Regions from separate parts of the Homo sapiens genome. Here region 2 is linked to region 1. Evidence: promoter capture Hi-C in 16 types of primary human blood cells and fetal thymus (Javierre and others, 2016). All regions are on one chromosome and are shown on one strand. Each heading gives the region's core, a stretch centred on a gene start or on the middle of the fragment in contact. The rest is flanking DNA. Distances are from core to core; before and after follow the strand shown.

The links. The method cuts DNA at HindIII sites, captures the fragments that hold promoters and counts their contacts. A CHiCAGO score of 5 or more calls a contact.
Region 2: a fragment that was not itself captured here is called in contact with the fragment with the promoter of TMEM14B in region 1 in 3 of 17 cell types (total B cells, erythroblasts and naive B cells); the score reaches 6.4 in total B cells.

The regions. Positions count from the first base shown.
Region 1 is chr6:10,746,361-10,752,289 of GRCh38, forward strand. It overlaps TMEM14B (transmembrane protein 14B), which reads left to right and starts at 1,445. Exons shown (of 6, transcript NM_030969.5): 1 at 1,445-1,521; 2 at 2,842-2,908; 3 at 3,262-3,338; 4 at 4,773-4,874. The coding sequence starts at 2,886. It overlaps TMEM14B-DT (TMEM14B divergent transcript), which reads right to left and starts at 1,224. Exons shown (of 2, transcript NR_187231.1): 1 at 1,101-1,224. RefSeq lists an enhancer at 1,005-1,054 and silencers at 1,175-1,404, 1,239-1,459, 1,415-1,474. The HindIII fragment of the contact is 12,296 bases long and covers 1-5,929 here.
Region 2 is chr6:10,513,382-10,518,818 of GRCh38, forward strand. All of the region lies in intron 1 of LOC101928146 (a long non-coding RNA gene), which reads right to left. It also overlaps the pseudogene LOC100422564. Among named protein-coding and RNA genes, the nearest start is that of GCNT2, 5.3 kb to the right of the region's middle. RefSeq lists an enhancer at 5,101-5,437. The HindIII fragment of the contact is 5,689 bases long and covers 1-4,596 here.

The sequences.
Region 1 (5,929 bases), core at 195-2,694:
TTAATGCCAACTAGAAATATTCCCAAACACAAATCATTGATTGTTTTACTCTGGTACTAATTGAAATAGAGCAGAAACCAATTTCTTTAATTTATTTTATGACATGTTTTGATGGACTTTACCTACACAGAAGAGCTATGTGTTCTGGTTGAGGAACGACACTGCAAGAAGCAGCATATGGTAGAATTAAGGACGCAGGCTTTGACATTAGACCTTACTTTAAATAATAGCTCTACCAGTGACCAGGACTGTAGGTAATTTAATTCTCTGAGGTTCAGCCTCTTCAAGTATAAGGTGGGGAAGGGCTCGAGGATCATGGTGGATGATCCTAATTAAGGTTTGAGGCTTGCACCTGCATAGGGAAGAATGAGTCCCTAAAGCCATTCCCTGCTGGTTAAGACAAGTCTCATTAATTGTTCAGGAAAGTCTTCAATTAAATTGAAGGTCTGGCATACTGCAATTCCTGCAAGTTCTTAGTTATTATCAGCTCTGGCTGGTTAGAAGCAGCTATGATAAACACGGGCTTCAATTTAGCTATCTGGAAGGTAGGTGCTGCTGCAAGTGGAAAGTTTGTCTTTAAGAATATGCGCTGCAATTTGCTTTATTCACTGATGATTATATTGATCGGAGTTGTCTATGTTGATACTTGTAGGGGATGAAGGAGAGGGAGAAGTCAACGATGACAGCAAATTTTAGTGTAGAGCAACTGAGCGAATGGTGGTGCAGGAAACACAGAAGAGGAGCGGCTCGGAAGTGGGAATGGAGATAACATCATACTGTGGACATTCGGAATCCACAGAGCTGCGTGGAAATCAGATTTAACTTGCTCTCTCTCCCCATTTAAGATGCTTCTCAAGTAGCCTCACTCCCTAAAACAAACGGATATTTGGCATTGCGCCACATTATTCTGCAGCTGCCATATTTTCTTGCAGGTGGAAGGCAGGCCCTTCCTGGTGTAAACAAACAAGATCGGGCCAGAGTGACAATCCTCCCTGATGGCCCGCACCTGGTTTATACCCTCTATTAATGGGGTCCTTCAAAATCATCAGATGCCCTCCTCCCGCAGCGGTGGCCTCCACCTCTGGCCTGGCCCAGCTTACGTGGTCCAGCTTGTGCAAGATCCAATTCCAACTCCGGGTTTCCGGCTTTTGGCCACTCAGGATTGGACCTGGGACTGGAGCTGGTCGGCCCTGCAGGTGCTGGGCCTGGGGACTGAGGAAGCACAGAGATTCCCCGCCCGGTTCCCCGCCAACGGCGCTAGCCGCGATGCCCCGCCTCACTCCCCGCCCCCGGGATGCAGGGCGCGTGCTGGTAATCCGCGGCTCAAGCCCCGCCCCCACTGTCCCCATTCTCCGCTCACCTCTCTCCAAGGACACTGCGCACGCGCCACGACGTCCCGCCTTTCTCCCCGCCCTGCCGCGGCCCCGGGGCGCAGCGCGCACGCAATCGCGTTTCCGGAGAGACCTGGCTGCTGTGTCCCGCGGCTTGCGCTCCGTAGTGGACTCCGCGGGCCTTCGGCAGGTCGGTGCAGGTCTTTGGAGAGTATTGTTTTTATTTTCTGCCACTTTTAACTTTTAGGGATTATTTAGGAGTTTCACGGCCGTCTGCTTTTCGTCCCCCCGATTCAGCGGGCCTTTATGCCGTGTGGTCGGTGCTTTTCTCCTTGGGTATTTTCTGCTTGTCTTAAAAGAGGCTGTGGATGCTCGGAGCACCTGAGCTCCTGAGGCAAAGGCTTACCCTTGTAGCATAGTGTTGCCTCGTTTCCTGGTGGTTTTGTTGCTCCAGCTCTTTAAAAGCCTCCCTTACTCAGTGCCGCCTCGAGTTAAGAACTGTGGGCAAGATCCCAAGCCCGCTGCCCTTCCCCGTTTTATGGGAAATTAATTCTTTCTTTTTTTGGGGGGTGGGGAGGGGTTCTCGCTGTGTCGCCCAGCCTGGAGTGCAGTAGCCTGAATATGTCTTATTGCAGCCTCTGCCTCCTGGGCTCAAGCCATCCTCCCACCTCAGCCTCCCAAGTAGCTGGGATTACAGGTGCATGCCATCATGCCCGATTTGTGTGTGTGTGTGTGTGTTTTAATAGAATATGGGTTTCACCATGTTGACCAAGCTGTTCTCGAACTCCTAACCTCAGGTAATCCGCCTGCCTGGGCCTCCCAAAGTACTGGGATTACAGGCGTGAGCCACTTTGCCTGGCCTAATTCTTTAAACAGAATAAACGGCGTATGCATTGCTTTCCATCTTGTTAGGTTCACTGCATACAGAATACTTTTCTGTAAGAAAATAGGAGCTGTTTTTCCAAGGGTGCAATGTCACATGTGATTCTGACTTGAGTTTCCGTGTATTTTACCCTCCCCTTCTGCCCTCCTAACGAGAACTGTGAGTTGGATGCAGAAGTTTCTAAAAAAAAAAATTGAGTATTGAAATTGGCTGTTGCATCAGTGAAGAAAAGCAACATCCCTACCACCCCTCAAAAGAGACATTAAAGTAGTTGGATTAAGGGCACGGGAGTATTTGCTTTCCGATTTAGTGATAATGTGAGTGCTTAATGAAATGACTAACACATTCCCTGATTATAGAGCTGGTCAGTGGATCTTGCTGAGTTTCCTGTGGACCTATGTGAAATGATCGGCATCTGTTCAGGGTTTACTAGGTGCTAAGCACCTTTACATGTGACATCCATTGAATGCTCACAACACCCCCAGGAAATTGGTACCAGTGTTATCCTCATGGTACAGTGAAGGATACTGAGACTTAGGTTGCATAGCCTGCAGGTTGGACACACTTCTTTCTGACTGCTGGGGAGCTGTGCTTTTAACCACTGCTGATCCGGCTTGTTTTCCCCAGATGCAGGCCTGGGGTAGTCTCCTTTCTGGACTGAGAAGAGAAGAATGGAGAAGCCCCTCTTCCCATTGTGAGTAGACAGTAAATGGTTAGAGAGTAGCCAGGAGCTTCTGGAAACCAGAGTTCCTTTCCTCAGCTGAAAAGAACCCTAAGAGTAGACTGCCTGGGATGGCGTGCGGGATGGGAGGATCACTGGACCTGTGGGCCAGAAACTTGGGTTTGAGTCCCAGCTCTAGCTTTGCTTAGTTGTGTGACTCTCAGAAAGTCATCCAACCTCTGTGGTGCTTATTTTCAGTGATAGTACCTGTGGGCACATAGGACCTGTGGGGAATGATTACCTTTTAGCCCCATCCTATGACAATATGGTTTGTTTTTAAATCCAGGTTAGCACTGACTTCTCACTGACTTCTCTTGTGTTTTCAGAGTGCCTTTGCATTGGTTTGGCTTTGGCTACACAGCACTGGTTGTTTCTGGTGGGATCGTTGGCTATGTAAAAACAGGTAGGGTTTTGTTGTTACTTAGCCTCTTAACATCTTCACGTTGTTCCAGTGAAATGTGAGTGCCTGTGTCCCTGAGAAGCAATCTCGTTTGACTCAGCTTTGCTGTAGGTCCCCAAGCTGGAGTGCAGGCTTCCTTGTCAGTCTTGCAGCTCCTGCCCTTGCCTTTTGCTTATCTGGTGAAGCTGAGCCAGGCCTCTTGTGGAATTACTTATTTTTGCCTCTTTATCTAAAGGTAGGCAGGGGTGGTTGTAGTTTGTTATTATCATTGACTGCCATTCATCAGCCATGACCCCCAAGTGCCATCTCTGGGCTTAAGTAGGAGTCAACCTCTGGCCTACACAGACTGGTATTTTGAAGTTTCCTCATTAGGCCAGGCAGGGGTGTGTCAGTGGCTGTGCTTGTTTTTGCCCCCTAGTCCTTGCCTGCATTCCCACCCCAATCCCTGCACCAGACTTCTTATTCTCCTGATCTTCTATTTTTTTTTTAACTGCCTGGCCCTATTTCCTTCTGCTTTTGTGATTTGCTGGAGGTCCTGCCTGTACACAATTCCAGCCCTTCATGGTTGATGAGGCCTGATTAGAAAGTGTTGTACTTGAGCGAGTTAGAGAAAACGCCACACTTTGAGACGAATTAAGAGTCTGTTTATTTAGCTGGGGCCTAAAAGACGGCTAACACTCAAAGTTCTCTCGGCCTTGAAGAAGGGGCTAGATTTTCTTTTATACTTTGGTTTAGAATGGGGTGGGGGGGGGGTCTAGTTAAAACAATTTTACTGAAGTAAAGTAGGCAAAAAAGTTAAAAGGATAAATGGTTACAGGAAAGTAAACAGTTCCAGGTGCAGGGGCTTTAAGACTATTACAAGGTGATGGACGCGGGGCTTTGGGCATTATCAATCGGACGAATTCCTGGGAACTGCGGATATAGCTCGCCACAGTATCTTATCAGTTAATTGCATTCTTGGATGTGCTGGGAGTCAGCTTGCACAAGTTAAGTCCTTGAGGACGGGGCTGCCAGTGAAAGAGCCAAGATGGAGTCTGTCTGGCTCTCTTAGCTAAGGAAGAGTCAATTCAGGTGGAAACAAGGCTAGGTGATTAAAGGAAAGGGAGAGTCTAAAAACAGGGTTAGTAAAAACAAGGTTAGGCATTACAAAAGAAGGCCTAGTCATAGTTCTGTCTAAGGAGGGAAGATGGCCTTCTTTCCTTTCCTTAGATGGAAGTGCCCTGCCTATTAGAGGAGAGAAAAATGGGGTGGGAAGACCCTGACTTCTCTGAGAAGATAGCACACTCTCCTTAACGCCTTCCTGCTTGAGTCCACCTTGGCTGTGAGCTGTGTTGAGAGTTCTTTGTGCTGTCCTTTGTAGGGCAGGAGGTCTGGTGGATTCCGTTAGTGAAATAAGTGCCTGACATTACAATGCAAGCTGCGTTTGCTTCCTTCTAGGCAGCGTGCCGTCCCTGGCTGCAGGGCTGCTCTTCGGCAGTCTAGCCGGCCTGGGTGCTTACCAGCTGTATCAGGATCCAAGGAACGTTTGGGGTTTCCTAGGTATGTCTGCTTCAGCGTCTCCTTAGGGCAATCATGTATCTGGAATATTCTTTTCCAAAAGACCCTGGTTTGGTGGGATGGAGCGAGTTCTTCCCACTTAATTTACGACAGTTTCACTGCTTCTCCAAGTCCAAGTCCTCAAAGTTTTAAAATAGGAGAAGGGTGGTGGGAATTGTCCTGGTTCCTGTTTATTGTTTATGTAGATAATATGGAAAGATTTCCATACCTTGTGAATTGTGTGACTCTCAGAAAGTCATCCATCCTCTGTGGGCCTTATTTTCAGTGTTTACCCAGTAGAATTAGTATCAAACTTGTATTACCCATATTTACCCAGTAAAGTCAGCATTAAACTTGTATAAGACAAATATGTGTCAACCGTTGAGGTTTTCCGCTGAAGACCATTGGCCTCAGTATCACTAAAATATCACGTATCTGGGTTAGGTTTGCAGCTGCGTTACGTTTTTCACATTTGAAAATCACCTCTTTAGCAGTCAGCTAACTAAATATATAAGACGTAGACCATGCTTTCAAGGAGCTTTCAACTGACTTCACTGGGGAAGTAAGACATGAGCATAGAAGCAGGACTGGAAAGGTACCCTGTGAGCAGCACGGACAGTGAGGACAGTGAGTGGTGTGGAGGACATAAGAGTCCTCATCAGAGTGGTTTTCAGTACATTTCTGTGGAGCTCCACCCATGTGTCAGACACTGCTATGAGTGTGGGTTCCTTGCGGTCTCTACAAACCCCGTGTGAGAATGAGTGCCATGTGGGAGGGAGAAGCCGTGTGATCTGTACATATCAGCTGGGGTGGGGAAGGGAGGTCCGTGATGGCTAATGGGGTGTGCTGGGGAAGGAGGTGTGTCCAGGTCCCAGCTCTGCCTAACAGCTCCCTCCCTCATGCTCCAGAATGACTTGAGCCTGCATTTTCCCTTTCTCTGATCCTACTCCACTCAGCAAATGACCTCACACCTATTGTAGAGAAAAAACAGCAGCCATCAGGTGGGGACTCCTGGAGCCTTTAATCTCCAAGCCTCCCCTCGTCCTGTTTCCCTCCTT
Region 2 (5,437 bases), core at 502-3,001, 230 kb before region 1:
TTATGGGTCATTGTCAGTGTTCTTTATTTGTAACTGAATCAATTGGTGAGAATAATCTGCAAGATTCCTTTCAATCCTGAAATACTATAAATTCTTGATCTTTATTTTTAAGTAAAGAGACCCCACTATCGAGGAGTTCTGGGTGCTGTCCACGTAAATGGTGACCTACTTCAGGACAACTGTGATTGCCTGAAGTTGAAGAAATATAGTGTCCCTTGCATTCAAAGGTGACATCAGTGATGGTGATGGTGGCTCTGCATGGGAAAAAGAGGTGCCAAATGAACACACATTCCACCTGTACTCCACATGGGAAAAACACCCTGAGCTGGCAGCTGTGGCCGATTTGCTAGGGTCTTAATTTGTGGTTGACCTAGACAGAGGTGCCCAACTGTGCCTGGCTTTTGTGAAGTGGTCAGCTGGCCCCACTGGCTCATGTTCAAAGAGTCACCTGATTTTTTAAATAGAAGAGCTACCGACTTGTGGTTGATCCTCCTTCTTTTAAGTAAATGGTCATATTGCACTTCTTGCTGCAAATAAGTTGCTAGAGCACATTTCTCAAGTCTGGGCAGGGACCTGCAGACTGACTTCAGCAATGGCATAAAATCAGGTGAATGATGAATCCAGAAAAGACCATAGGAAAAATAAAGGTAGAGGCATTTGGGTTGGTCCTAGGGCTTATGGCCACGTCCATAACTCTTTTATTCCTGTATAGTAACTATTAGGTCCCGCAAAAATATCTTCCATGGGGGAAGATCTCAAACTCTTCAGTCCTTGCAGAAGTGTGTGGCATGATTGTGACAGGCAAGAAAATGTTCTTGGATGAAAATATACCAGTGACGCCATTGAGAAATAATAACCTGCCAGCGATACTTGATCCGAAATCACTGCATAATGGAACCTGTGTCCAAAGACGAAGCCGAGTTCCCTTTGGCCTATGTCATGGTCATCCGCAAAGACTGATACATTTGAAAGACTCTTGAGGGCCATCTACACTCCCCAAAACATCTACTGTGTTCATGTGGATCAGAAGGCCCCAGTCACTTTCAAAGACGCTGTAAGAAAGCTACTGAGCTGCTTCACAAACGTCTCTGTGGCTTCTGAGAGGGAGTCTCTGTTCTACACAGGGATCTCCAGGCTCCAGGCTGACCTGCACTGCCTGAAAGACCTTGTGGCCTCTGAGGTTCCCTGGAAGTACGTCATCAACACCTGTGGGCAAGAATTCCCCTGAAAACCAACAGGGAAATACGTTCAGTATCTGAGGTTACGGAAAAGGAAAAATATCACCCCCGGGGTGCCGCCTCCTCCTCATATTATCAGAAGGACCAAATACATGCACTTGGAGCAGAGATAGCTTGTTTTCCTTCATGCTGTGGACTTGCATGAGAAAAATGCCTCCTCCCCACCATCTGACAATTTACTTTGGCTCTGCCTATGTGGCCCTTACAAGGGAATTTGCTAATTTTGTTCTTCAAAACCTAAGGGCCATTGATTTACTTGAGTGGTCAAAAGATACTGACTCTCCTGATGAGCATTTCTGGGTGACACTCAGTAGGATTCCAGGTATGTGGAACTTGATTTCCAATCTACATAAAGTCTAAACTCTGTGAGTGCACGCACACGTGTGTGTTACACATTGAAAATGGTCTTGATGAAGTTATGTATACCCATCTGTGTTTCTAGACTTAATGAATATCCTGTTGACTGCTTTCCATATGTTTCAATAAATTAATATAAAATATACTTCTGGCCAGGTGCGGTGGCTCATGCCTGTAATCCCACCACTTTGGGAGGCCGAGGTAGGCAGATCACTTGAGGTCAGGAGTTTGAGACCAGCCTGGCCAACATGGTGAAACCCTGTCTCTACTAAAAATACAAAAATCAGCCAGGTGTGGTGGCACTGGCCTGTAATCCCAGCTACTCAGGAGGCCAAGACAGGAGAATCACTTGAACTTGGGAGGTGGAGGCTGCAGGGAGCCAAGATTGCAGCACTGCACTCCAGCCTGGGTGGCACAGCAAGACTCCATCTCAATGAATGAATGAATAAATAAATAAAATAAATTATGCTTCTATGTGTCACTAAATAGACTGTTAGCTTATAGAACATCCTTATTAAATTTCTGCTGTCATTGTATGTTATGTTTTGTTAAATTTTTTGTTGGTACACAGTAGGTATATATATTTATGGGTTACATGAGACGTTTTGAATCAGTCATGAAATGTGAAATAATCACTTCAGGGTAAACGGGGTCTCCATGACCTCAAGCATTTATCCTTTGTGTTACAAACCATCCAATTACACTTTTATTCCTTTTAAAATGTACGATTAAATTATTTTTGACTTATGTTATGCTAGCAAATACTAGGTCTTATTCATTCTTTCTGTTTTTGTACCCATTAACCCTCCCCCTTTCCCTCCATACCCCTACTCCCTTTCCCAGCCTCTGCTCATCATCCTTCTACTCTCTAACTCCATGAGTTCAATTATTTTAACTTTTAGCTCCCACAAACGTGAGAATATGTGAAGTTTGTCTTTCTGAGATCTTTGAATCTCTGATATGACACCCAAAACTTTTTTTTTTTTTTTTTTTTTGAGATGGAGTTTCGCTCTTGTTGCCCAGGCTAGAGTGTAATGCCACAATCTCGGCTCACCACAACCTCCGCCTCCCGGGTTCAAGCGATTCTCCTGCCTCAGCCTCCCGAGTAGCTGGAATTGCAGGCATGCGCTACCACGCCCGGCTAATTTTGTATTTGTAGTAGAGACGGGGTTTCTCTATGTTGGTCAGGCTGGTCTCGAACTCCTGTCCTCAGGTGATTCGCCCACCTCAGCCTCCCAAAGTGCTGGGATTACAGGCTTAAGCCACTGCGCCCAGCCCCCAAAACTCTTTTTTAAGCAATGATAATATGTTGTCTAGAAATTCAGTATCTTCAATATGGATTGGATTATTCATTATAATCTCATTTTCTGTGAATCTATATTACACGCATTTGAAAAGTTTGAGATCTGAGAATGTCAATAAAATTTCTATAAGAACAATATGAAATAATGCAAATTTCTCCAAATGAAAAAAGTTTTAAAAATCCATTAAGAATTTCAAGAATTTGGCCAGGCACGGTGGCTCATGCCTGTAATCCCAGCACTCTGGGAGGCCAAGGCGGGCGGATCACAAGGTCAGGAGATCGAGACCATCCTGGCTAACATGGTGAAATCCCGTCTCTACTAAAAATACAAAAAAAATTAGCCGGGGTTGGTGGCGGGCGCCTGTAGTCCCAGCTACTCGGAAGGCTGAGGCAGGAGAATGGCGTGAACCCAGGAGGCGGAGCTTGCAGTGAGCCGAGATTTCGCCACTGCACTTCAGCCTGGGCGAGAGTGCGAGACTCCATCTCTGAAAAAAAAAAAAAAATTTTTTCAAGAATTCAGAACCATCTTCCAGGTGAACTGTCTGTCAACTGTGTTTGGGCCATGTCCACATGCTGGCCTCACTTGGATTGATGGGTAGAAACCCTCTGTGGGCCAGCCTTCATGAGTCTTCAGGAAGTCATCCTTCGTATAAAATTTTAAAATCCTCTACTAGTTATCCGTGGGCAGAACATTTTAAAACATTCTTTTCTTATTATAAAATTCAATCTTACTGCGGAAACTCTGGGAAAAACAAAAGCATAAACAAGAAAGTAAAATCTACGCATTATACAAAACTGAGAAGTAATTTCTGTTAGCATTTTAGCATTATTTACCTCTTTCTCTGTGTATTGCTTCATGTAGTTAGGTTATACTGATGATGTAATTTTTTTATCCTGCTACTTTCATTTAACACTATATCATAATAGTTTCCCTATGTGATTAAAAATATGACATATTGTATTTTATCATAGTATGGATGTACCATAGTTTGCTTACCAATTCCTCAATAGTTCGTTTTTTCCTTTTTTTTTTTTTTTTTTTTTTTTTGAGACAGGTTCTTGCTCTATCACCCAGGCTGGAGTGCAGTGGCACAATTTCGGCTCACTGCAACCTCTGCCTCCCGGGTTCAAGCGATTTTCCTGCCTCAGCCTCCTGAGTAGCTGGGATTACAGGCTTGAGCCACTGCGCCCCACCTAATTTTTAAATGTTTTGTAGAAGTGGGGTCTCGCTATGTTGCCCAGGATGGTCTCACACTCCTGGGCTCAAACTATCCTACTGGCTCCGCCTCCTTTTTTTTTTCTGAGGCGGAGTCTCACTCTGTCGCCCAGGCTGGACTGCAGTGACGTGATCTCTGCTCACTGCAAGCTCCGCCTCCTGGGTTCACGCCATTCTCCTGCCTCAGCCTTCCGAGTAGCTGGGACTACAGGCGCCCGCCACCACCCCTGGCTAATTTTTTTGTATTTTTAGTAGAGACGGGGTTTCACTGTGTTAGCCAGGATGGTCTCGATTTCCTGACCTTGTGATCCGCCCGCCTCAGCCTTCCAAAGTGCTGGGATTACAGGCATGAGCCGCTGGCCCGGCTGGCTCCGCCTCCTGAAGTGAGGGGATTACAGCCTCGTTCCTAGTTTTTTACTGTGTAAAATGTTATTTTAGTCAATACTGAATAACATCAAAAGTAAGTAACATCTTTTCACATAAGCTTCGCCACATTTTAGTATTATTGTCTTTGGAATTAAAATTCACTGGATTGAAAGATAGCCACATTTAAAATTCTTGATACATATTGCAAAATTGCTTTCCAAAATATATTCTAATTTTCCATCAGTCCACCAGTGTGTGATCACACGTCTGCTAACAGTGGTATTCTAATGTATTTATTTTATTTTTGAGACAGTCTCTCTGTCCCCCTGGCTGGAGTGCAGTGGTGCTATCTCAGCTCACTGCAACCTCTGCCTCTCAGGTTCAAGAGATCCTTCTGCCTCAGCCTCCCAAGTAGCTGGGACTACAGGCATGTGCCATCACACCGGGCTAATTTTTTTTGTATTTTTAGTAGAGAGGGGGTTTCACCATGTTGGCCAGGCTAGTCTCGAACTCCTGGCCTCAAGTGATCTGCCCGCCTCGGCCTCCCAAAGCGCTGGGATTAGAGGCGTGAGCCACCGCACCTGGCCTAATGTATTTCTTTTAAAAAATTACTTGAATTAAACAGAAAAAGAACTGCGCTACTCTTGTTATTTATAATTTGTTAAAGATGAATATATTTTAAAGGTATGTTAGCCATTTTTCTTGTTCTTTGTGGGTTGCCAGTTTTCTGGGTGGCAGGCACAGAATTTCAATGCTCTATTGTTTGTGATGGAGAAGAACAGGTTGGGTGGCCAGGAGGTGAAAGGATAAGGGTATTTCCAGCAAAGAATGGAGGCTGTAAGGAGCTGGCAAGGACTGAGATCATTTGAATAGGCATAATGAAATAGTGAAATAATTAGGTAATTTGCCAAGGAAAAAATCACCCGTTGCTGCGATGATTTGACTTAACTGGCTCTT